Regions from separate parts of the Homo sapiens genome. Here regions 2, 3, 4 and 5 are each linked to region 1. Evidence: promoter capture Hi-C in 16 types of primary human blood cells and fetal thymus (Javierre and others, 2016). All regions are on one chromosome and are shown on one strand. Each heading gives the region's core, a stretch centred on a gene start or on the middle of the fragment in contact. The rest is flanking DNA. Distances are from core to core; before and after follow the strand shown. Region 1 holds the start of SLAMF7 (SLAM family member 7). Region 2 has its middle 25 kb from the start of ITLN2. Region 3 holds the start of SLAMF6 (SLAM family member 6). Region 4 holds the start of LOC101928372 (a long non-coding RNA gene). Region 5 has its middle 26 kb from the start of ITLN1.

Region 1 (4,812 bases), core at 1-2,500:
GGTACACTACACAGGCTGCCTCTGGAGGAGGGCAGAGGGGGACCTGCATGGCAGTTTTTCATACTTGTGCTCTTTCGCTGACTGATTTCAGATGGACACCTGTAGCTTTCAAAGTCTCTATAATTTTCCCCAACCCCTCCACCTTATCTCCCTCAAGTTCTATTTCTGCTCATCATTTCCGTTCAGGGAGTTTTTTTTTTGTTTTTTTTTTTTAAAGTGAGGGCCTATTCCAGAACCACCTGGTTAGACCCAGGTACCTCTCAAAAATACAAACTTCTGATGAATTCAAAGTGGGTAAGAGTCTGCTGATGCTGACCACTTAGCGATGCAGGGGAAAATATTGGGGGCACCAGCTGCCTGCGTGGTCTTGGGCAGATCACTCCAGGCAGGCTCAGATACACATAATGAAGCAGTTATGTGAAGTCCTTATAGGGGGACCTCATGGTAGTACTCCATGAGATTGATGACAGAAGAGATATTTCTCACTTATAGGGCTCCTGATCCTTTCTGAGAGCCCTTAGGATAGAAAAATCTTCAAAGACTAGAATACCAGTGACAGGTGGAGAACTGTCCTCTGTCCTCCATGGGATTAAACATAAAGTGCCTATGGTATGAGTTGGTTCTCTAAGTAGAGACTGATTACATTGCTTGAGTAAGGAAAGAAAATTCAAGTGATTCTTTCCATTTATATTACTGTTATGCATAACCAATTTTATAAATACATTTATAAGTAAATAAATACATACCTGTATAGTATCATCTTGTTCTTAAAGTTGCCCTCAAAAGGAGAGAAGGCTAGAAGATAAAGTTTCTGAGGCCCAGGAAAACTTTAACATTCCTTATCTAACTCATGGCAGAACCTGGATTAGAAAAATGGTCTCTGATACCCAGCACCACTTCTTTCAGCTCCTTCATCCCTGGGACAGTCAACAGGGGAGTCAGTTCCCAGAGCCATTTTTCCCCCTCTCTCTAGTCTCTTCCTGACCTGAGAATCAGAGATCAGAGATTGATAAAAAGCAAATGTTAGATGAGAACACAGAGCCTCCCGAGTTGAGCCAGAGGCCCAGAGTGGAACAAGAAACCTGGAACTATTCAGGATGGGGTAGACAGGAGAGTGGAAGAGAATCCGGCCGGACTCACCTGTGAGCTGCCAAAGGATATAGATGAGGGTGAGGCATGTTGGGGAACCAGCCATATTGCTCTCTGGAAGTCAGCCACTGAAATGAAGCCACTTCCCTCTTAGGTATTACTCAGACCTCTTCCCCAGCTGATATTTAAAGAAGCAGGAGGGGTCACGCCGCAGACATGTGAGATTGAGTAATTGCTAAATTATTTTCAGAGTGAATAGAGCATTTTACCTTGCCACCAGCAATCTATGAGAGATCTATTTGCTCCCCATCTTCATCAGCATTTGGTATATTCCCATTTTATATTTTAGCTGTTTTAATAGGTGCTGTAGTGATACCTCATTGTGGCTTTAATTTGCATTTCCCTAAAGCCTAATAATGTTGAACATCTTTTCATGTGCTTATTTGCCATCTATATATCCATATCCTCCTTGGTGAAATGTCTATTTATGTCTTTTGTCCATTTTATAATCAGATTCTTTATTTTTTTTACTGTTGAGCTTTGACAATTCCTTATATGTTCCAAGTATAAGAGTCATTTGTCAGATATGTGGTTTACAAATATTTTCTCTTGGTCTGTAGCCTGTCTTTTCATCTTCTTAACGGGGTCTTTGGCAGAGCAAAAATTTTAATTTTGATGAAATTCAACTTATCAGTTTTTTTTCTACCCACACTAGGGTCCAAAGGTTTTCTCCTGAAAGTTTTATAGTTTTATGTTTTACATTTAAATGTATGATCCTGTTTTAATGTAAGGTGTGAAGTTTAGGTTGAGATTCACCTAAATATATTGTCTATATTCATTGAGAACCATATCAGGTAATATGGTTGACAGTTTTTTTTTGCTTTCGACACTTGAAAAGTGTCATGACACTCCTCCCCTCCATGGTTTCCAGTGAGAAATCAGCCATCATTTAAATTGTTTTCCCTATAGGTAATGTGTCATTTTTCTCTAGCTGTTTTAAAAGTTTTTTGTTTGCCTTTGGTTTTCAGAAGTATGATTACAATGTGCGTGTTTTTTTTTCTTCTGCCTGTGGGTGTTCAATTGTTCTACTACCATGTGATGGAAAAGATGATCTTTCCTACATTGAATTACTTTTGTATCTTTATCAAAAATCAGCACTTATACTTGTGTGGGTATATTCTGGAGCTATCTATTCTATTTAACTGACTTACATAATGTAATTATTTATATATCAGAGCTTAAGTTTGCCATGTTATTATTTTCTCTTTGTTCTTCTGGGCTTTTGTTTGTTTATTTTGTTCCTCTGTTTCACTTTCCTGGCCATCCTGTGTGTTACTGGAATATTTTTTATAATTCCATTTTGATTTATCTATAATGTATCTTTTTGAAGAGTTTTTTTACTGGTTGCTGTACATATTGCATTTTACATACATAACTTTTGATCTACCTATCAGTGTTGACATTTTACCAGTTGAACTAGGTATAGAAAACTTACCTATATTAGGTTTCTTTATTAGTCTATCTTTATACTTGTCTTAAATATATTGTCTATATTCATTGAGAACCATATCGGTAAGATTATAAGTTTTGCTTCAATTGTTGAACATAATTCAGAACACTCAAGAGGAGAAGGACAATCCATTACATTTACCCATATTTTAACTCTTTTCATTGTTATTTCTTTATTTCTAATGTTTCAAGTTTCCTTCTTTTTATTTTTTTTTGGACGAAGTCTTGCTCTGTCATACAGGCTGGAGTGTAGTGGCATGATCTTGGCTCACTGCAATCTCCGCCTCCTGGGTTCAAGCGATTCTCCTGCCTCAGCCTCCTGAGTAGCTGGGACTACAGGCTCATGCCACCATGCCCACCTACTTTTTGTACTTTTAGTAGAGATCAGGTTTCGCCATGTTGGCCAGGCTAGTCTCAAACTCCTGACCTCAGGTGATCCACCAACTTTGGCCTCCCAAAGTGCTGGGATTACAGGTATGAGCCACCACACCCAGCCTTCAAGTTTTCTTCTTTAATCATTTCTTTCTGTTTCAAGATATTCTTTAGGAATTCTTTTATGATAAGCCTGCTGATAACAAATTATCTTAGTTTTCCTTCACCTGAGAATGTCTTGATTTAACCCTCATTCCTGGGTATAAAATTCTAGGTTGACAGTTTTTTTTCTTTCAACACTTGAAAAGTGTCATGACACTCCTCCCCTCCATGGTTTCCAGTGAGAAATCAGCCGTCATTTAAGTTGTTTTCCCTGTAGGTAATGTGTCATTTTTCTCTAGCTGTTTTAAAAGTTTTTTGTTTGTCTTTAGTTTTCAGAAGTGTGATTATAATGTGTCTTGGTGTGAATTTCTTTGGGTTTCTCTTATTTGTGATTCATTGAGTCTCTTGAATCTGTAGGTTTTTACCTTTTGCTAAGTTTGGGGAAATTTCATTATTTTTTGAATACTTTTTTTTCAGCCTCACATTCTCGCTTCTCTCCTAAAATTCTGATGACATGAATGTTATAAATCTTTTGTTTTTCTCCCACAGGGCTCTGAGGCTCCATTTTTTTTTTTTTTTTTTTTTTTTTTTGGCCTATTTTCACTCTGTTTTCAGATTGGGTATTTTCTATTGTTTATCTTCAAGTACACTGATTCTTTCCTTTTTCATCTCCATTTTGCAATTTTTTATTTTTTTATTTTTTCTGAGACAGAGTCTCACTCTGTTGCCCAGGCTGGAGTGCACGATCTCAGCTCACTGCAACCTCTGTCTCCTGGGCTCAAGCGATTCTCCTGCCTCAGCCTCCTAAGTAGCTGGGATTACTGGCACCCGCCACCACACCTGGCTAATTTTTATATTTTGGTAGCGACAGAGTTTTGCCATGTTGGCCAGGCTGGTCTTGTACTCTTGACCTCAGGTGATCCGCCCACCTTGGCCTCCCCAAGTGCTGGGATTGCCAGTATGAGCCACTGGCCCTGGCCTCCATTTTGCTATTAAGCTCATTAAACTCATTCAATTAGTTTTACCTTTCAGTCATTGTATTATTCAATTCTAAAATTTCCCTTTGGTTCTTCTTTATATCTTCTACTCTTTTTTTAAAGACTTTCTAGTTTTTTTGTTTATTTGTTTTAAATGTGTTCATAGCTGCTAGTTGAAGCATTTTTACTATGGTTTCTTTAAAATCCTTGTAAGATAATTCTAACGTCTGTGTTGTCTTGGTTTTGGTGTCTGTTGATTGCCTTTTGTTCATTCAAGTCAAGATTGTCCTGGTTCTTGTTATGATGAGTGATTTTTGACACAGTGATGATAAGGTAGGGGACCACATTACTGCTGAGCAGTGGTAAAAATCCAGACCCTCCATTTGGCCTTTTCTGACACCACCCAAAGCAAGAATTGGGAGGAGTGCCTCATTGCTTCAGGGAGGGAGTGCATGTTCAGTCTTCCTACTTAGCCTCTTCTGATGCCACCCCAGTGGGGAGTGGGGAGTGGGGAGGGATGATTCCTTACTGCCAAGGGGTGGGGTGGGGGGTTTAAATATAGGTTTTCCACTTGGCCTTTGCTGTTGGCGGGGGGGTGGTGTCCCATATTTCCACATGATGTTTGGCTAGAATATGGTGATTATTGTTTAAAGGCTTCTATTCCAGCAGTCCCCTTTCCAGTCTTTTGGCAGGAGAGAACAGAAAATCCTTGGGATTGGCGTTTCTAGATTATATTCTTATCTAGCACATGGCCTACAATACA
Region 2 (4,812 bases), core at 814-3,313, 240 kb before region 1:
AGGGGGACACCGAGTGGCCGCTCGTCTTCTTGCTCTCCCTTGGGGCGGAAGACCTAATCGTGGAGGGGCTTTAATCCCCAGGCCTTGATTCTAAGAAGGTGTGGGTTCCAAATCTTTTTGTGCAAGGTGGCTCAGCCCCGTGGCATCTTCAAGGCACGGGGAGGAGCCATGCGCTAGGCTTGAAGCGGGGCAGCGGGGACGCGCGGGGATGTTCCCTGCGCAGGGTTTGGAGGTGTGGGTGAGTGCAGGGGCGCCGCCGCGTCCCCTCCTCCAGGCTTCCCGACCCCATTTCTTTTTTTTTCTTTTCTTTTCTTTTTTTTGAAATGGAGTCTCGCTTTTTCGCCCAGGCTGGAGTGCAGTGGCGCTATCTCGGCTCACTGCAAGCTGCGCCTCCTGTCCCGACCCCATTTCTGATACCTTGCAGCGACTGCGTCCCACTTCCCATCTCTGGGAGAGTAGATCCTGGCCAGACTGGTTCTGAACTTTTGTGATGCAGAATTATAGAAAGGGCAGAACTGAAAAGCCTGGGAGAGGCCAGCGCAAGGTATTTACGGGGAAGCTGACTTAATTTACATTGCAAAGAGCCGAGGGCTGGGGACCCGCCCTGGGAACTAGGGTGCGCAACTGGATTCTGTGGGTTAGGGGAGCGGGATTGGAGAAAATGAGGGAGAAGAGAAAGGGGATTATAAAAAGTATTACTGGCTGGGCGCGGTGGCTCACGCCTGTAATCCTAGCACTTTGGGAGGCCGAGGCGGGGGGATCACGAGGTCAGGGGATCGAGACCATCCTGGCTACCACAGTGAAACCCCGTCTCTACTAAAAATACAAAAAAATTAACCGGGCAAGGTGGCGGGCGGCTGAGGCAGGAGAATGGCGTGAACCTGGGAGGCGGAGTTTGCAGTGAGCCGAGATCGGCCACTGCACTCCAGCCTGGGCGACAATGTGAGACTCCGTCTCAAAAAAATAAGAAAAATAAAAAAAAGTATTACTGAGATTAAGGATTTATCCCCTTTCAATGTCTTTTGGGAGGCAGTGTAAAGAGGGCTTTTTCCCTCTAATTATTTTGTGCTTATTTGGAACATGATTTTCCCAATAGGATCCCTCCAGGAGACTTTTACACTTTAATGTCAAAAATTGTAACAAATATTATCACTAACACTGGTGTTTTGGGCTGAATTTTGTCCCCTCAAACCCTTAGGTTCAAGTTCTAACCTTCAGTACCTTTGAGAGTGTGACTGTATTTGGACATGGGGCCTTTAAAGAGGTTATTAAGGTTAAATGAGGTCATTAGGGTGGGCTCGAATCCAATGTGACTGGTGTTCTTATAAGAGATTAAGACACTAATACAGACCAAGGGTCGACTGCATGAGGAATAGCAAGAGGATGGCCATCTGCAGGCCAAGGAGAGAGGCCTCAGAAGAAACCAAACATGCTGACACCTTGATCTTGGATTTCTAGCCCCCAGAACTGTGAGACAATAAATTTCTGTTATTTAAGCCACTCAGTCTGTGGTTGTGTTACGAACTGATACAGCTGTACTTAAGGATGATGCCTATTGAATAGACTTTTAATTTTTTTTTTTAATTTCTCAAAAAAATAGAGACAGGGTCTCACTATGTTGTCCAGGCCAGTCTCAAATTCCTGGGCTCAAACAATCCTGCCTCAGCCTCCCAAAATGCTGGGATTACAGGAGTAATCCCACTGCCTGGCTGAGTATGCTTTTATTTATTTTAATTAATTAATTGATTTAGAGACATAATTTTGCCCTGTCTCCCAGGCGAGAGTGCAGTGGCCCCATCTCCGCTTACTGCAACCCCTGACTCCTGGGTTCAAGCAATTCTCCTGCCTCAGCCTCCCAAATAGCTGGGATTACAGGCATGGGCCACCACGCCAGGCTAATTTTTGTATTTTTAGTAGAGATGGTTTTCACTATGTTGGCCAGGCTGATCTTGAACTCCTGACCTCAGGTGATCTGCCTGTCTTGGCCTCCCAAAGTGCTGGGATTATAGGCCTGAGCCATGGCGCCCAGTCTGGTTGAGTATGCTTTTAATTTGTATAGGAAATATAATCTAAGCATTACTCCATATTTCCATTAATACTTGACAGTTTTACTCATAACTCAGTCTTACTTTACCGACAGTCTCGTGCCCCTTTGGATTTCTGAATCTTGTCTTGGAGTCAGAACCTACTGGGTCTCATAATTTTCTTTTCTTTTTTCTTTTATTTATTTTTTTGAGACGGAGTCTCGCTCTGTTGCCCACGCTGGAGTGCAGCAGTGCGATCTCAGCTCACTGCAACCTCAGCCTCCTGGGTTCAAGCAATTCTCCTGCCTCAGCCTCCTGAGTAGCTGGGACTACAGGTGACCACCACCAAGCCTGGCTAATTTTTTTTTTTTTTTTTTTGGTATTTTTAGTAGAGACGGGGTTTTACCATGTTGGCCAGGCTGGTCTTGAACTCCTGGGCTCAAGCAATTCACCCGCCTCATCCTCCCAAAGTTTTGGGATTATAGGCGTGAGCCAACACACCCAGCCTGGGGTCGTACTTTTCTCAAGGACTATAAAGTTCTTTTTTTTTTGAGAGACAGGATCTTGCTTTGTTACCCAGGCTGCAGTTCAGTGGTGCAATCATGGCTTGCTGCACCTTCAGGGCTCAGATGATCCTCCCACCTCATCCTCCTGAGTAGCTGGTAGTACAGGCACATGCTACCACAGCTGGCTAATTTTTTAGTTTTTTGTAGAGATGGAGTCTCGCTAGCTATGTTGCCTAGGCTGGTCTGGAATTTTTCGGCTCAAGCAATCCTCCCACCTTGGCCTCCCAAAGTGCTGAAATCATAGGCATGAGCCACTGTCTGGCCTAAAGTTCTTTTTTTCCAAGTCAAAATCTGCAGCTCACATTTCTACTAGGTTGGTCTCATGCAGTTGAGAGTCATGTAGTAGTTCTGCTTTAGGAATCATTCTTACAAAGGAAGATTTCCTTTATTGAGATATAGATTTCACATACAAAAGGGTAACTTCTATGTTTGCAGTTCTCAAAATAATCAGCTCAAAATAATCCTTATGCCCAAAAGGCATGTTTTGGGTGGCATACTCAGGTGTCCTACAGTCATATTTTGGGGTGGCATATTTTCATCTCCTCCATGAGATTTTCATCTCCTCCTGAGAATAGAGGTTTATATAGTCAGAAATGGCATGCTGAAATGTCAACTAAGTGTAGGGAAGGAAAAATGCCTTCTTCACCCCTCTAGATTCTGTAGCTGGTCTAAGAATTAAACTAATATAAGATTAACAGAAGAAAAACAATCTTATTTATTTATTTTTTTTTCGAGACAGCATCTCTCTCTTTGCCCAGGCTGGAGTGCAGTGGTGGGATCTCGGCTCACTGCAGCCTCACCCCCCGGGGCTCAAGTGATCCTCCCACCTCAGCCTCCCAGGGAGCTGGGACTACAGGTATGTGCCACGATGCCTGGCTAAGTTTTGTATTTTTGTAGAGATGGAGTTTTGGCATGTTGCCCAGACTGGCCTTGAACTTCTGAGATGAAGCGATCCTCCCTCCTCCTCAGCCTCCCAAAGTGCCGAGATTACAGGCGTGAACAAATACGCCTGTGAGCCATGGCACCCAGCCTAAAAAAACAATCGTAGGGGAGGAAAAATAATCTTCTCTCTTAGTTACATATATATAAGTGGGAGTCTGACAAAAATATGAAAGGCCAGGCGCGGCGGCTCACACCTGTGTAATCCCAGCACTTTGGGAGGCTGAGGCGGGTGGATCACTTGAGGTCAGGAGTTCGAGATCAGCCTGGCCAATATGGGGAAACCCCATCTCTACTAAAAATAATAGAAAAAAATTAGCTGAGCATGGCAGCACATGCCTGTAGTCCCCAGCTACTCTGGAGGCTGAGGCAGGAGAATTGCTTCAACCTGGGAGGTGGAGGTTGCAGTGAGCCAAGATCTTGCCACTGTACTCCAGCCTGGGCAACAGAGCAAGGCTCCTTCTCAAAAAAAATAAAATAAAATAAAAAGAGATTCAAAGTAGCCAGATGATTGAGGTTTACATGCCATCCTGAGCTACAGAAAGATATACGGGCTTGGGGCTTCTATAGGGTGGTGGAGGCAAATTATAGGAGGGTGAGGAGAGGAAATGTATGGTGAGTAAAAGTTGCTTGATTATGCAGATAGAAGTCTCTCAGGTGATTAAAGTTGTGTCAGATTAGCTCTCTTCCTGATACAGATACTTTTATTAATGGACATTTCTTTTCTTGCCCAGGGTCTAGTCTTGAACTCCTGGCCTTAAGCGATCCTCCTGCCTTGGCCTCCCAAAGTGCTGGGATTACAGGCTTGAGCCACCACAGCTGGCTGGAAATTTTCTTTTCAAATGTAAATTTCTCTTACTTAAGGGGAAACTTACACTTTTTTTTTTTTTTTGAGACAAAGTCTTCCTCTTGTCCCCCAGGCTGGAGTGCAATGGTGCGATCTCGGCTCACTGCAACCCCCGCCTCCTGGATTCAAGCTATTCTCCTGTCTCACCCTCCTGAGTAGCTGGGATTACAGGTGCCTGCCACCATGCTTGGCTAAGTTTTGTATTTTTAGTAGAGACGAGGTTTCACCATGTTGGCCAGGCTGGTCTTGAGCTCCTGACCTCGGTGATCCGCCCACCTCAGCCTCCCAAAGTGCAGGGATTACAGGCATGAGCCACCGCGCCCAGCCTTTTTTTTTTTTTTTTTTTCAGATGGAGTCGCCCTGTCACCAGGCTAGAGTGCAGTGGTGTGATCTCAGCTCTCTGCAACCTCTGCTCCCAGGCTGAAGTGATTCTTCT
Region 3 (4,812 bases), core at 777-3,276, 220 kb after region 1:
ACACTGGATAAAGAAAATGTGGCATATATATACCATGGAATACCATGCAGCCATAAAAAAGGATGAGTTCATGTCCTTTGCAGGGACATGGATGAAGCTGGAAACCATCATTCTCAGCAAACTAACACAAGAACAGAAAGCCAAACAACGCATGTTCTCACTCATAGGTGGGAACTGAACAATGAGAACACATGGACACAGGTAGGGGAACATCATACACTGGGGTATGTCACGGGGTGGGGGGCAAGGGGAGGGATAGCATTAGGAGAAATATCTAATGTAGATGACAAGTTAATAGGTGCAGCACACCAACATGGCATATGTATACATATGTAACAAACCTGCACATTGTGCACATGTACCCTAGAACTTAAAGTATAATTTTAAAAAATCAGTTTTCTTTTGGCTTTTTCTTAGCTTTATACTTAAATATTTTTTTCTAATGTAATTAGAGTGGAATTGTTTTTTGAATTTTATTTTTGGATTACTCATAGCTAGTATATACAATTGCAATTGAATTTTATATTTTGATTTTGTATCTTTTCACCTTGCTGAACTCATTTATTTGTTCTAGTAGATTTTAGGAAATTCCTTACAGACTTTTACATATAAGTTTATGAAAGATGCAATAAAGGACTTTATCTTCTTTTCCAAAAAAAAAAAAAATTTGTGCACTTAGCTCAGAAAAAAGTAAACAAAAAATTAACACAGTTACAAATTAGGATTTTTAGTGCAGGGGAAGAAGTTGTCACCACGCCTCTAAGAGGAAGGGGAAGTCTCAGAAGTATTTTCAGTTTATGACAGAAGGGCAAAAACATTGACTGCCTCAAGGTCTCAAGCACCAGTCTTCACCGCGGAAAGCATGTTGTGGCTGTTCCAATCGCTCCTGTTTGTCTTCTGCTTTGGCCCAGGTAAATGTCAATCCAGATCGGTGTAGTCACTGAGTGACTCCCTGGTTTTGTGCAGCTTGCTCAACCTAAATCGTCTGTATACAGTTGTCTGGCTCTCTGCCAAGGGATTGGGGCGGGAAAGGGGACGCTGGCAGTGTTACCTGATATACTACTACCTCCTCTCAACTTTGGATGCGATAAGCCTGAGATGGTTGTCGGTGAACAATTTCAATTGTGTCTGCATGTAAGAAAGTTATTTGCTGGGGCAGAGGAAATAAGCTTTTGAAGACAAGACTGTTTGTGGTTTATGACCAGCATCTTGTGTTATAAAGAGTACCAAGACCAAGAAAATGGGCCCTCATACCAATGTATCTACTATCGTACTGTGAACCTCAGGGAGGTTACTTATCCTTCCTGAACCTCACTATCCTCATCTAAATTATTAAAAACCTATTATTCAGTTGAGCCAAATTTTCTGGGCCCAACCAAACACACCAAAAATAACCCTCTCACCTTTTGCTCATTGCAAAAAAAAAGGTTTCCATCTCTCCCCTCCTTTAGTGCAAATTAGGGCTAGCTAGTCCAGCAATGCATTATATATGGCAGTGAGAAAAGAATGAACTGATCCAGCTGGCTTCTTGTTTCCTGCTGTCCATTATATGGAGAAGATGAAGATTCATATCACATTTGGGGAACTACAAGTGGTCCACGGGAGACAAAGTGTAGCATTCAGGCAGAGATAGTCCAGGAGACCAATGGAAATCTAGTCCAGAGCTAGCCCAGGGTAGCAGATAAAAGTAGGAAGCATTCACTGAGCACTTATTGTATTTCAAGTATTGTGCCAGGTGCTGTACACACGTTATGAGTCTCATGAGAATTCTATGAATTTATACTATTAATATCTCCATTTTAAAATGAAGAACTGAGGTGAACTTAATTTAAATAATTTGCCCAAATTTCATTAGCCAGCATGCGACAAGCTCTTGTAATAGTTATGAGAAAAAATAACAGTTCAACAAGTGTGGCAGCAGCATAAGAGAAAGAAGAGACTGAAGCAAGAGATCCCATCAATATGGAGTTAAGTAGAGTAATTGGTAATTGGAATGAGAAAGGAATAAATATTCATTGAGCACCTACTGAATGCTTGGCACTCTTCTAGTTTGCATGAATACATCATGAACAAAGCAAGCAAAAATTCCTGCCCTCATGGAGTTAACATTTTAGCAGGAGACAAACTGTAAAAAAAGATAAACAAGTAAAATAGTGTATTGGGTAGGAAGAAATAAATCAAGAAGGAAAGGGAGAGATGAAATATGGTAAAGACGGCAGTGAAATTTCAGACAGGATAGCCAAAGAAAGTGACAAAATTGGAAGGTGGAGAGCAGCCACAGGAGGAAGGTGAGTTCAATTTTGGACCTACTGATTTTAGGATGTCAGTGTGCTATACATGAGGAAGTTACGTGGAGGATCCTGGGAACTTAGGACTAGGGGTAGAGCTGAGGCTAGAGACTTAAAAATCAATGGCATAGAGATATGTTAAGCTGAGGAGAAAACTGGAATGAGAACAGAACTTTGGGAAATATATATAAAATGCAGAAAGAGAGAGAATTCTTTCCTTCATTCAAGAGCCACTTCCTGATCTAGGAGCAGAATCTTGAGTTTTTGCTTCATTTTTACCACCCTGCAAAATTATTTCCACCTCTAGAATAAAATATTCTGAATGTCCTTGTGTTAAAACTCCTCTTCTTCTCCCTATTTCCATGAATACTTCTTATAATGACCCTATGAAATATACAGTGCTCCAATCTCCACTTCACAGATGGGGAAAGAAGGCACAGAACACTAAAGTAACTTGCTCACTGCCCCACATTTATGGGGGAAATGGGTATAGAAAGAGAAACACATTTGAATGAGTTTACAGGAGGCAGATGCAGGTGTTCTGAGACCCAGGAGGAGAGAAGTGGCTGCTAGAATTGGAAATCAGGAAGCTTGGCTCCGGAGTCTGTGCTCATAGCCACTTCACTATGCTACTTAGCTTACACACAGTCATACATTCACACAAATGTGTACATAATTAGAAAATGTGAGGCCAGCAAAAAAAATAAGCAGGGCACCTTCATAGAGAAAAACACGGGGACCTGCTTTGGACGGAGTGATGAAGAAAGGACTTCCTGGAAAAGTAACATCTCATCTGATATTTAAAGGGTGTGAAAAGTTAAACAGGAAAAGTCAAATGAAGAAGATTTTAGGGCAGAGGGAATCATGTGTGAAAAGCCGTGATGCAGGAAAGAGCCTGGAGTGATTTAGGAAGGGAAAGAAGACCACTGTTGCAAAAATGTGGGGCAAATGAAATTAATCTTTGAAACAACCATGAAAAACAATGACTCATGCCAGCCTACATTCTTTGAAGTGGGTTGGGCACTATCCTGACTCCTTTTAGAAAATTTAGTGGAAAAGACAAACCATATTGAAAAATAATCCCATTTCCTTTAACTCAAGCCCTGGGTGGCAAAACTAACAGAACAAAACAATAATTGTAAATAAAATCAAGCATCATGACTTCCTAGAGAAAATAAATCTCGTTTGTTTCTTCATTTTGATTTTTATAGATGGAAAGTTGGAAATTTGTCAAACTTAAATGTGCATATAAATTACTTGGGGGAATCTTATTAAAATGCTGATTGGGGAATAGGGACTGAGATTCTGCATTTCTAAGAGGCTCCCAGGTGACACCAATGCTGCCTGTCCATGGACCACACTAAGCAGCAAGGTTCTAAATTCCAATGGACTTCAGTCATACTGGGATTGTAGGGAGGAAGAAATAGAAACTAACTTTGAGTGTGTTTGCAGGAAGCAGATATAGGTATTCTGAGGTCCAGGAGAGAGCAGTGGTTGGAAATGTAAGTAAAGCAAACACATGAGGGCTGATTCTGAGGTTGAGTCAAAATGTGCAATGCTCTTCTGTGAAGAGATTGTGACCTGATGGCCCCCGAGCAGTGTTATCTACTTTTTACCAACCGTCCACATCTTTCAAATGTTTATTGTGCTCAACAGGCAGAGAGCTGTTTTATATTTTTTCATTATCCTCAGACACGTGTTTTTCCACCTCTCAGAATCTGCAATCTCCAATGTGACCTCCAGGTGTTCATGCCTCTGTTTTTGGTCCCTTAACCCAGATTCAGCTTTGATTGTTTCTCTGTTCACACTCAGACATTTTTTATTAAGGTGAAATTCTTGTAACAGGATGTAATAATTTTAAAGTGACATTTTGTACATTTTGTGAAACCACCACTTCTATTATTCTAAAACATTTTCATCACCCCAAAAGGAAACCCTGTACCCACTAAGCAGTCATTTCCCATTCTCCCCTCCCCCCCAGCCCCTGGCAAATACCGATCTGCTTTCTGTCTCTGTGGGTTTACCTATTCTGGATAATTTCATATAAATGAAATCACACAATATATGACCTTTCGTGTCTGACTTCTTTCACTTAGCATCATGTTTTCCAGGTTCACCTATGCTGAACCATGTATCAGTACTTCATTCCTTTTTGGCTGAATAGTATTTTGTATTCTGTATATACTACATTTTATTTATCCATTTATCTATCAGTGGACACCTGGGTTGTTTTTGCCTTTTGGCTCTTGCGAATAGTGCTGCTATGTGTACAAGTATTTGACTACCTGTTTTTATCTGGGTATATACCTAGGAATGGATTTGTCAGATCATATAATTCTATGCTTAACTTTTTGGGAAATTGCCAAACTGTTTTCCACAATGGCTGTACCATTTTACATTTCCACTAGCTGTGTACAAGAGTTATAATTTCTCCACATCCTCATCAACACTTGTTTTTTTCCTTTTTAAAAAGATTATTATCACCATCCTAATAGGTGTGAAGTGGTATATTATTGTGGTTTTG
Region 4 (2,967 bases), core at 36-2,535, 190 kb before region 1:
GTGGAGGCTTTTCTTGCTTTGTGCCCCACTTAAAATTGGCCTAGATGAAAGCAGCAGGCTCACATGTTATATGTGTTGCTTTCAAAATCCAGAGACCAACCCTGACCCAGTATTGTTTTTCACCTTGGAAAGATCATTCTGACATAGAAAATTCACTGATATGGCATATTCTGCATATAGCCTGCCAATTCTTTGGTAATTCCCCCCACCCCACCAAATTTGGGCGGGCTTAGTGACTAAGTTTTCATGAAAAGAATATGGCAGAAGTGTGACCTCTGAGACTGCATCCTAAAAAATGATACAGCTTCTTCCTGGCTTTCTCTTTCTTAGGACTTGTGCCTTCGGATCCTGATTTATTAAGTGAGAAGTCCACTATCCTGAAGCTGCTATGCTGGAGAGACCATGTGAAAAGATCATATAGAAGTAGAAAGATGCCCAAGAAGCCATATATGCTTCTTTCTGTAGCTGTTTCAGTCTGCCCACCCAGGGATCGGACATGTTAGAGAAAGAGTCTTAAAGATTATCCCAACCCCAGCCACCATGTGACTGCAACCTCATGAAAACCCCACACCAGAACAGTGGTATCAGCTCAAACTTTGCAAGGGCTAGGAGACTGAGGGCAGCTGACCAGATTTATGTGATTGAGCCTAATAAACTGGCCTGAGTAAGCTTCCCTGGTTGACAATATTCTGCGAGTATTATCACACACTGGATGTCAGGAAATTAACACTGTCCACAACTCATGGAAAGGACAACTGGGAGTTCTGTGTTTAGAGCTTTCCTGAACTCTGCCCTATGTACCCCTTCCCTTGGCTGATTTTAACCTGTATTCTTAGCTGCAATAAACCGTAACTTTCCATGAGCACTGTGAGTTTGTCTTGTGAATTATTAAACTCACGGGTGGTCTTGGGGTCCCCCCAAGCTGACAATTAATGTCAGAGAGGAGGAGGATATTGGGGGACCCCAACCTTGCAATCGGTGTCAGAAGTGAGGGTGGTCTTGTGGGCTGCTCCTCTAACAATGTATCCAGCATAACCTTGATATGAAAATCTCACAAGAGTATCACAAGAAAAGATAATTATAAGCCAACCACCCTCATGACTGTATATGCAACAATTCTAAACAGGATATTAACAAACCTACATATGAATTTGAGAGGACATAAATGTTCAGATCATAGCATTGCTGAGCATTCTGTATGAATATAGACATAATTCAAGACCAAGACTGATGATTGCTATTGTGAGTTGAACTGTGTTCCCTAAAGTGGTATGTTAAAGTCCTAATCCAAGGTACCTGTGAATGTGACCTTATTTGGAAATGAGATTTTTGCAGATGCAACTATTTAAAATGCAGTTATAGTGGATTAGGGTGGGCCCTAATTCCAATATAACTAATATCCTTATAAGAAGAGAAGAGACACAGATGCAGAAACACACACAGATGGAAGGCAGCTGTATGAAGACGGAGGCAGAGAAGGGAGTTATGTGGCCACAAATCAATAAATACCAAGGATTGGCCAGGCATGGTGCCTCATACCTGTAATCCCAGTACTTTGGGAGGCTGAGGTGGGATGATTGCTTGAGCCCAGGAGTTTGAGACCAGCCTGGGCAAAAAATACAGTGAAACTCCATTTCTATCAAAACCAAAAGCAAACAAACAAAAAACCCAAGGATTGCTTTCTACCTGAAGCTGGATGAGGCAAGAGAAGATCCTCCTGCAGAGTCTTTGGACAGAGCACAGTCCTGCTGATGCCTTAATTTTGGACTTCTCACCTCTGAAATAGAGTAATTTCTTAAAAAGCCACCTAGGTTGTGACAATTTGTTATGGCAACCCTAGGAAACTGACACAATTGTGTCATTGTTTTTTTCTCTCTACTAGTTTTAAAATTGTAAGCTTTTTTTCTATCCTTTTAGTGGCTGCTCTAGAACTAACAGCAGGCTTCATGAATGTTTTCTAATCACAAATTTGTGTGTTTATTTCTTTTAAAAGCATTAATTGCGAGCCTATTATGTGCCAGAACATATTCTAGATGCTGGGGATATAGCAACAAGTCAGGTACACATTTCTGCCTTTCTGGAGATTGTACCCTAGTACCAGGAAATATACAATATGCTATAAAAATAAATAATAGAATGTCAAGTTTTTATTTATTTATTTATTTTTATTTTTTTAAACCAGGTCTCCTTATGTTGCCCAGCTGTTCTTGAACTCCTGGGCTCAAATGATCCCCCCGCTTCAGCCTCCCAAAGTGCTGGGATTACAGGCATGAGCCACCACACCCAGACTAGAATGTTAAGTTTGAAAAGTGCTATGGAGAAAAAGAAAGTTGAGTAGCGACATAGATATATTGGGGGTGGTGGTGGTTTACAACTTTAATAGATCTTTAAAGAAGACTTCAGTGAGAAGGTGACATTGAGGAAGGATCTGAAGAAGGTGAGGGATTGAGCCATAAAGTACCAGGCAGAGGGAATAGCAACTGCCAAGGTATTGAGATGGGAGTATCTTCACTGCGTTCAGGGAGCTGCAGGGAGATTTGGCTAGCAGAAGCTGCATAAGTATGGAGGAAAGCAGCAGGTCATGACAGCACAAAGGTAAGATGGGAGCAGATTGTGTAGGATATTGTGGGCCTTCTGGGCAAGACTAGAAGCCTTCAGAGAGGTCTGAGTAGGAGGGTAGCCTGATTTAACAGGATGACTTTGGCTGTGTTGAGGATATACTGAAGACTGCCAAGAGCAGAAGCAGAGAGACCAATGAGGAGACTTGCAGCCAGCCAGGGGATGCTAGTGGCTTAGAAGAGGATGAAAGCAGTAGGATTGTGAATGGTGGTCAGGTTAGACTATTTTGAAGGTGAGGCTGACTTACTCATTCACTTGCTGCTATTTTTAAGTGATAGCTTTTTTTTTTTTTGGACAGAGTCTCGCTCTGTCACCCAGGCTGGAGTGCAGTGGCGTGATCTCGACTCA
Region 5 (4,812 bases), core at 596-3,095, 170 kb before region 1:
AGATAAACACGTGAACAAGGTCTCTGCATCATAGAGAAGGTAAAGAATTAAGTGCTGTGCTTTAGATATGTATACACATAAACATCTCAATGCCTTAAAGAGCAGTATTGCTGCCTGCTGTCCTACCTCCAGCCTTAAGGTGGTTTTCCTTTATCTTAGTAGATGGAATATACAATCGGGTTTTACACCAAGACATTCCATTGCCTAGGGACAGGCAGGAGACAGATGCCTTCCTCTTGTCTCAACTGCAAAGAGGCGTTCTTTCCTCTTTTACTAATCCTCCTCAGCACAGACCCTTTACGGGTGTCAGGCAGGGGGACGGTCAGGTCTTTCCTTTCTTACGAGGCCATATTTCAGACTATCACATGGGGAGAAACTTTGGACAATACCTGGCTTTCCTAGGCAGAGGCCCAAGCGGCCTTCCCCTTCCAGCCTTCCGCAGTGTTTGTGTCCTTGGGTACTTGAGATTAGGGAGTGGTGATGACTCTTTAGGAGCATGCTGCCTTCAAGCATCTGTTTAACAAAGCACATCTTGCACAGCCCTTAATCCATTTAACCTTGAGTTGACAAAGCACATGTTTCAGGGAGCACAGGGTTGGGGGTAAGGTTACAGATTAACAGCATTTTAAGGCAGAAGAATTTTTCTTAGTACAGAACAAAATGGAGTCTCTTATGTCTACTTCTTTCTACACAGACACAGTAACAATCTGATCTCTCTTTCTTTTCTCCACAGGCTCACACCTGTAATCCCAGCACTTTGGGAGGCTGAAGCGGGTGGATCACCTGAGGTCAGGTGTTCAAGACCAGCCTGGCCAACATGGTGAATCCCCATCTCTACTAAAAAATATACAAAAATTAACTGGGTGTGGTGGTGCGCACCTGTAATCTCAGCTGCTTGGGAGACTGAGGCAGGAGAATCACTTGAACCTGGGAGGTGCAGGTTGCAGAGAGCTGATATCGCATCACTGCACTTCAGCCTGGGCAGCAGAGTGAGACTCCATCTCAAAAAAAGTTTTTTTAAATTTTATTAAAAAAATTGAGATGGGGTCTTGCTATTTTGCCCAGGTTGACTCAAACTCATGGGCTCAAGCAATCTTCCCACCTCAGCCTTCAGAGTAGCTGGGATTACAGTTCTGAGCCACCATACCTGGCTCAGCAGTGGGCTTTTGAAGGAAGAGTTGTGCTTTTTCTTTCATTAACCATGCTGGACTGCATGACTGGAGGATGTATTCCTGGTTTCAGGAGTCCTCTGTGAACCTCTGTTTAGCCTTGGTTCCCCTGCGAGGCTTCCTGGACTCCAAGGTTAGCTCCTAAGAAGGGCCTTCGCAAAGCTTCACAAAGAGTTACAGGCCTACATTTATTTTGATTGCTCTAATTTTCTAGACATTTTCCTTACTCTTTATTTTGAAAATGTTCAAATCTACAGTAAAGGGTATGGAAGGCAGAATAATGGCCCCCCAAAGATGTCCACATTCTAATTTCTGAAACCTGTGGATATGTTATCTTAGATGGCAAAAGGGACTTTGCAGATGTGATTAAGTTAAGGATTTTGAGATGAGAGGAGTGTCCTGGATTATCCAGGTGGGCTCAATGTAATCACATGAGTCCTTTAAAGGCAGGCAAAGGGTCAAACAAGGGTACAGAAGGCAGGCAGAGGGTACAGAAAAGGAAATGCGATGATCAGAGCAGAGGTTAGAGTGATGTGTTTTGAAGATAGAGGAAGGAGCCATGAGCTAAGGAGTGTGGGTGGTGTTTGAATCTGGAAAAGAAAACATTCTTCCCTGAGCCCTGAGAAGAAACAGCTCTGCCAACACCTCTCAGCTCCATAAAGCTCATTTTGAATTTCTGACTTCTAGAACTTTAAAACAACAAATTTGTGTTCTAAGACACCACGTTTGTGGTAATTTGTTAAGAGCAGAATAAGAAACAAGGTCTGCAGCTTGTAGCTGCAGCGAACACCGAGAATGAAGTATTCAGACAATTCCAGCTGAGCGGGACAAGTAGCAGCTCTTCTGAGAGAGTGCTGCTTTAAGATGGGTAAGCCAAGTATTTATTGAGAGGGCTTCTTAAACTACAATTTAGACAAACGAGACATTGGCTAGGTAACGATTTGCGGTCTGGTCACGAGGCACATATAGCCTTATTTGTTACATCTAAAAGCACTCAGACCACATTCTTAGGAGGCTGTTCTCAGCCCTCCTTATCACACAACTCCTTATTACACAGTTCCTTATCACACATTCCGTTCCTTGCCCTGTTTTCAGGGTCAAGGAATTTCAGTCTCATGCGCAAACAACATACACACAGTGCCTCAGTATTTTCCCATGCCTCGACCTCAAATGCCTTGCACATAAGCTTGAATATGTTGCTGTGCACCCCCCACATCTCCCCCTTCTTTAATTCTTAGAGCATGCTGGTTATCTAATGCAAGGTAAGCTTCTATCGTTCTTTCCTGATCATAGATGCGTGGGCGGGGGGCAGCACAGAGCCATTTGCAGATGCCTAGCAAACAGATACAAAAAAGAATAGGTATAGTGGCCATCACCCAAATGTGTATGTTTAATCCAGACAACTAAGTGTTCAGGTTCAACCATTGAAAACCTTCTTGTAATTGCTGAAGGATATTTGTTTGTAATTGCTGTGATCATTCTTTTTTTTTTTTTTTTTTTTTTGAGACAGAGTCTCGCTCTGTTGCCCAGGCCGGAGTGCAGTGGCACGACCTTGGCTCACTGCAACCTCTGCCTCCTGGGTTCACGCCATTCTCCTGCCTCAGCCTCCCGAGTAGCTGGGACTACAGGCGCCCGCGACCCCGCCCGGCTAATTTTTTGTATTTTTCGTGGAGATGAGGTTTTACCGTGTTAGCCAGGATGGTCTAGATCTCCTGACCTCGTGATCTGCCCGCCTTGGCCTCCCAAAGTGCTAGGATTACAAGCATGAGCCACCGCGCCTGGCCTGCTGTGATCATTCTTTAAGTTGTTTCTTTAACTCGCACTCAAGAGTAGAAATTTGAGAGGATAAGTGGTCCTGATAAGCCCCTTGTAGGTGCGCCTTCACTCTCTCCCAAGTATATTGGGAGCTATTATATGGCAGAGGTGTGACACAGATAGAATTATATTGCCAATCACAATGTAAATTTTGACAAGTAATGAATACCTGCTGCTGATCCCCCAGCCATTCAACAGCGGCTTTAAGAGCCTCCAGGTGAGACAAAATAGTTTTATCAATATTTACTTGTTCTTGAAATCCATGGGTTACTTTGTATACCATGTGGTTTGCTACCAAGGCTGTGTGAATAGATTGTGTCAGAGAAACAGCTGTAGTAGCGGCAGTTGCTAGTATTGAGAAGTGAAGCCAGCTGGGCTTCTGGGTCCTGTTGGGACTTGGAGAACTTTTCTGTCTAGATAAAGGATTGTAAACACACCAATCAGTGCTCTGTGTCTAGCTAAAGGTTTGTAAATGTACCAATCAGCACTCTGTAAAATGGACCAATCAGCAGGAGGTGGGTGGGGCCAAATAAGGGAATAAACGCTGGCCACTAGAGCCAGCAGCCGCAACCCCATTGGGTCCTGTTCCACTGTGTGGAAGTGTTCTTTCCCTCTTCACAATACATATTGCTGCTGCTCACTCTTTGGGTCCACACTATCTTTATTAGCTGTAACACTCACCACGAGGGTCTGCGGCTTCACTCCTGAGGTCAGTGAGACCACGAACCCACCGGGAGGAACAGACAACTCGATGTGCCACCTTTAAGAGCTGTAACACTCACTGTGAAGGTCTGCAGCTTCACTCCTGAAGTTAGCCAGACCACGAACCCAACGGAAGGAAGAAACTCCGAACACATCTGAACATCTGAAGGGATAAACTCTGGACACACCATCTTTAAGAACTGTAGCACTCACTACGAGGGTCTGTGGCTTCACTCCTGAAGTCAGCGAGACCAAGAACCCACCAGAAGGAAACAGTTCCGGACACAGTATAATAATAGCTGAGACAAAAAAGGCAATTAAAGTGGCCAAAAATCTTTTTTTTGAGTATGAGATAGTGCTTTTCTAAATAACCGTAGGGTTAAATTTACAGGGAGCCACAATTCTACATGCCATTTTAGGATCATGCCATAGGTTATATTTAACTATGTAACATTTTGATGAGACAAGCATGTAGCGTACCAACTACTGGAAGAGAAAGTAATACTATATAAGGATTGATTCTGTTCTATGTTAGGAATACCCTGCCCAGACAAAATTATCTAGGGGTGTGTAGTACAAATCAGGACTGTATCAGTAACATTATTGTGCAAGGAGAGGGTATAGTTGCCACTGCTGTAAATGTAATCACCATACAAAACAACGCATTCAAAAAAGGGAAGACCTAGTCTCCAAATTTGGGTATGAGCAGGGCTTAAAGCTTGCTTCCCTTTTAGTTGTAATATTGGTCCTGAAAGCCCATACTCTGACCAGGTGATGGAACTATTGGAGGACTCCCAAATCCAATAGTCTGATTTGCAGACATAAGATTAGCATGGGGACCCCAATCAAGTAAGGTGCCATTATTAAGCAGAGGCCCTTGTCGTGGCGCAGGTTGTCTGCATGGGGTTCACACTGGACAGCCTCAAACTTACATTGCCAGTCCCTTCTCAGACAGCATATAAGAAGACTAGGCACTTGTGTAGCTTCATTAGAGACCTTAGTGAGATTAATGGTAACAGCAGAAATAAAGGTCAAGTTTGCGGGCTTGGCATCCCTTTTGAGGTGACAGTAAAGATACTCCAGAGGAATAAGAGTAATGTGCTTATCATGGGCTATTGTAGAAAAA

The links. The method cuts DNA at HindIII sites, captures the fragments that hold promoters and counts their contacts. A CHiCAGO score of 5 or more calls a contact.
Region 2: a contact is called between a fragment that was not itself captured here and the fragment with the promoter of SLAMF7 in region 1, in 8 of 17 cell types (neutrophils, naive CD4 T cells, naive B cells and 5 more). The highest score is 8.3, in neutrophils.
Region 3: a fragment that was not itself captured here is called in contact with the fragment with the promoter of SLAMF7 in region 1 in 1 of 17 cell types (total CD8 T cells); the score reaches 5.3 in total CD8 T cells.
Region 4: a contact is called between a fragment that was not itself captured here and the fragment with the promoter of SLAMF7 in region 1, in 12 of 17 cell types (total B cells, non-activated CD4 T cells, fetal thymus and 9 more). The highest score is 10.0, in total B cells.
Region 5: a contact is called between a fragment that was not itself captured here and the fragment with the promoter of SLAMF7 in region 1, in 2 of 17 cell types (total B cells and fetal thymus). The highest score is 6.6, in total B cells.

Annotation. Positions count from the first base shown.
Region 1 is chr1:160,735,685-160,740,496 of GRCh38, reverse strand. It overlaps SLAMF7 (SLAM family member 7), which reads right to left and starts at 1,250. Exons shown (of 7, transcript NM_021181.5): 1 at 1,141-1,250. The coding sequence starts at 1,195. LOC124904440 (a long non-coding RNA gene) reads left to right here and starts at 1,338. Exons shown (of 2, transcript XR_007066687.1): 1 at 1,338-1,414. The HindIII fragment of the contact is 11,353 bases long and covers 1-4,812 here.
Region 2 is chr1:160,977,445-160,982,256 of GRCh38, reverse strand. No RefSeq gene overlaps it. Among named protein-coding and RNA genes, the nearest start is that of ITLN2, 25 kb to the right of the region's middle. RefSeq lists silencers at 3,492-3,692, 3,464-3,758. The HindIII fragment of the contact is 7,479 bases long and covers 1-4,812 here.
Region 3 is chr1:160,519,243-160,524,054 of GRCh38, reverse strand. SLAMF6 (SLAM family member 6) reads left to right here and starts at 800. Exons shown (of 8, transcript NM_001184714.2): 1 at 800-911. The coding sequence starts at 863. RefSeq lists an enhancer at 966-1,015. The HindIII fragment of the contact is 1,709 bases long and covers 1,172-2,880 here.
Region 4 is chr1:160,929,541-160,932,507 of GRCh38, reverse strand. LOC124904441 (a long non-coding RNA gene) reads left to right here. Exons shown (of 2, transcript XR_007066689.1): 2 at 331-862. It overlaps LOC101928372 (a long non-coding RNA gene), which reads right to left and starts at 43. Exons shown (of 6, transcript NR_110695.1): 1 at 1-43. The HindIII fragment of the contact is 1,228 bases long and covers 672-1,899 here.
Region 5 is chr1:160,909,062-160,913,873 of GRCh38, reverse strand. No RefSeq gene overlaps it. Among named protein-coding and RNA genes, the nearest start is that of ITLN1, 26 kb to the right of the region's middle. RefSeq lists enhancers at 1-477, 478-1,132 and a silencer at 2,101-2,395. The HindIII fragment of the contact is 1,024 bases long and covers 1,334-2,357 here.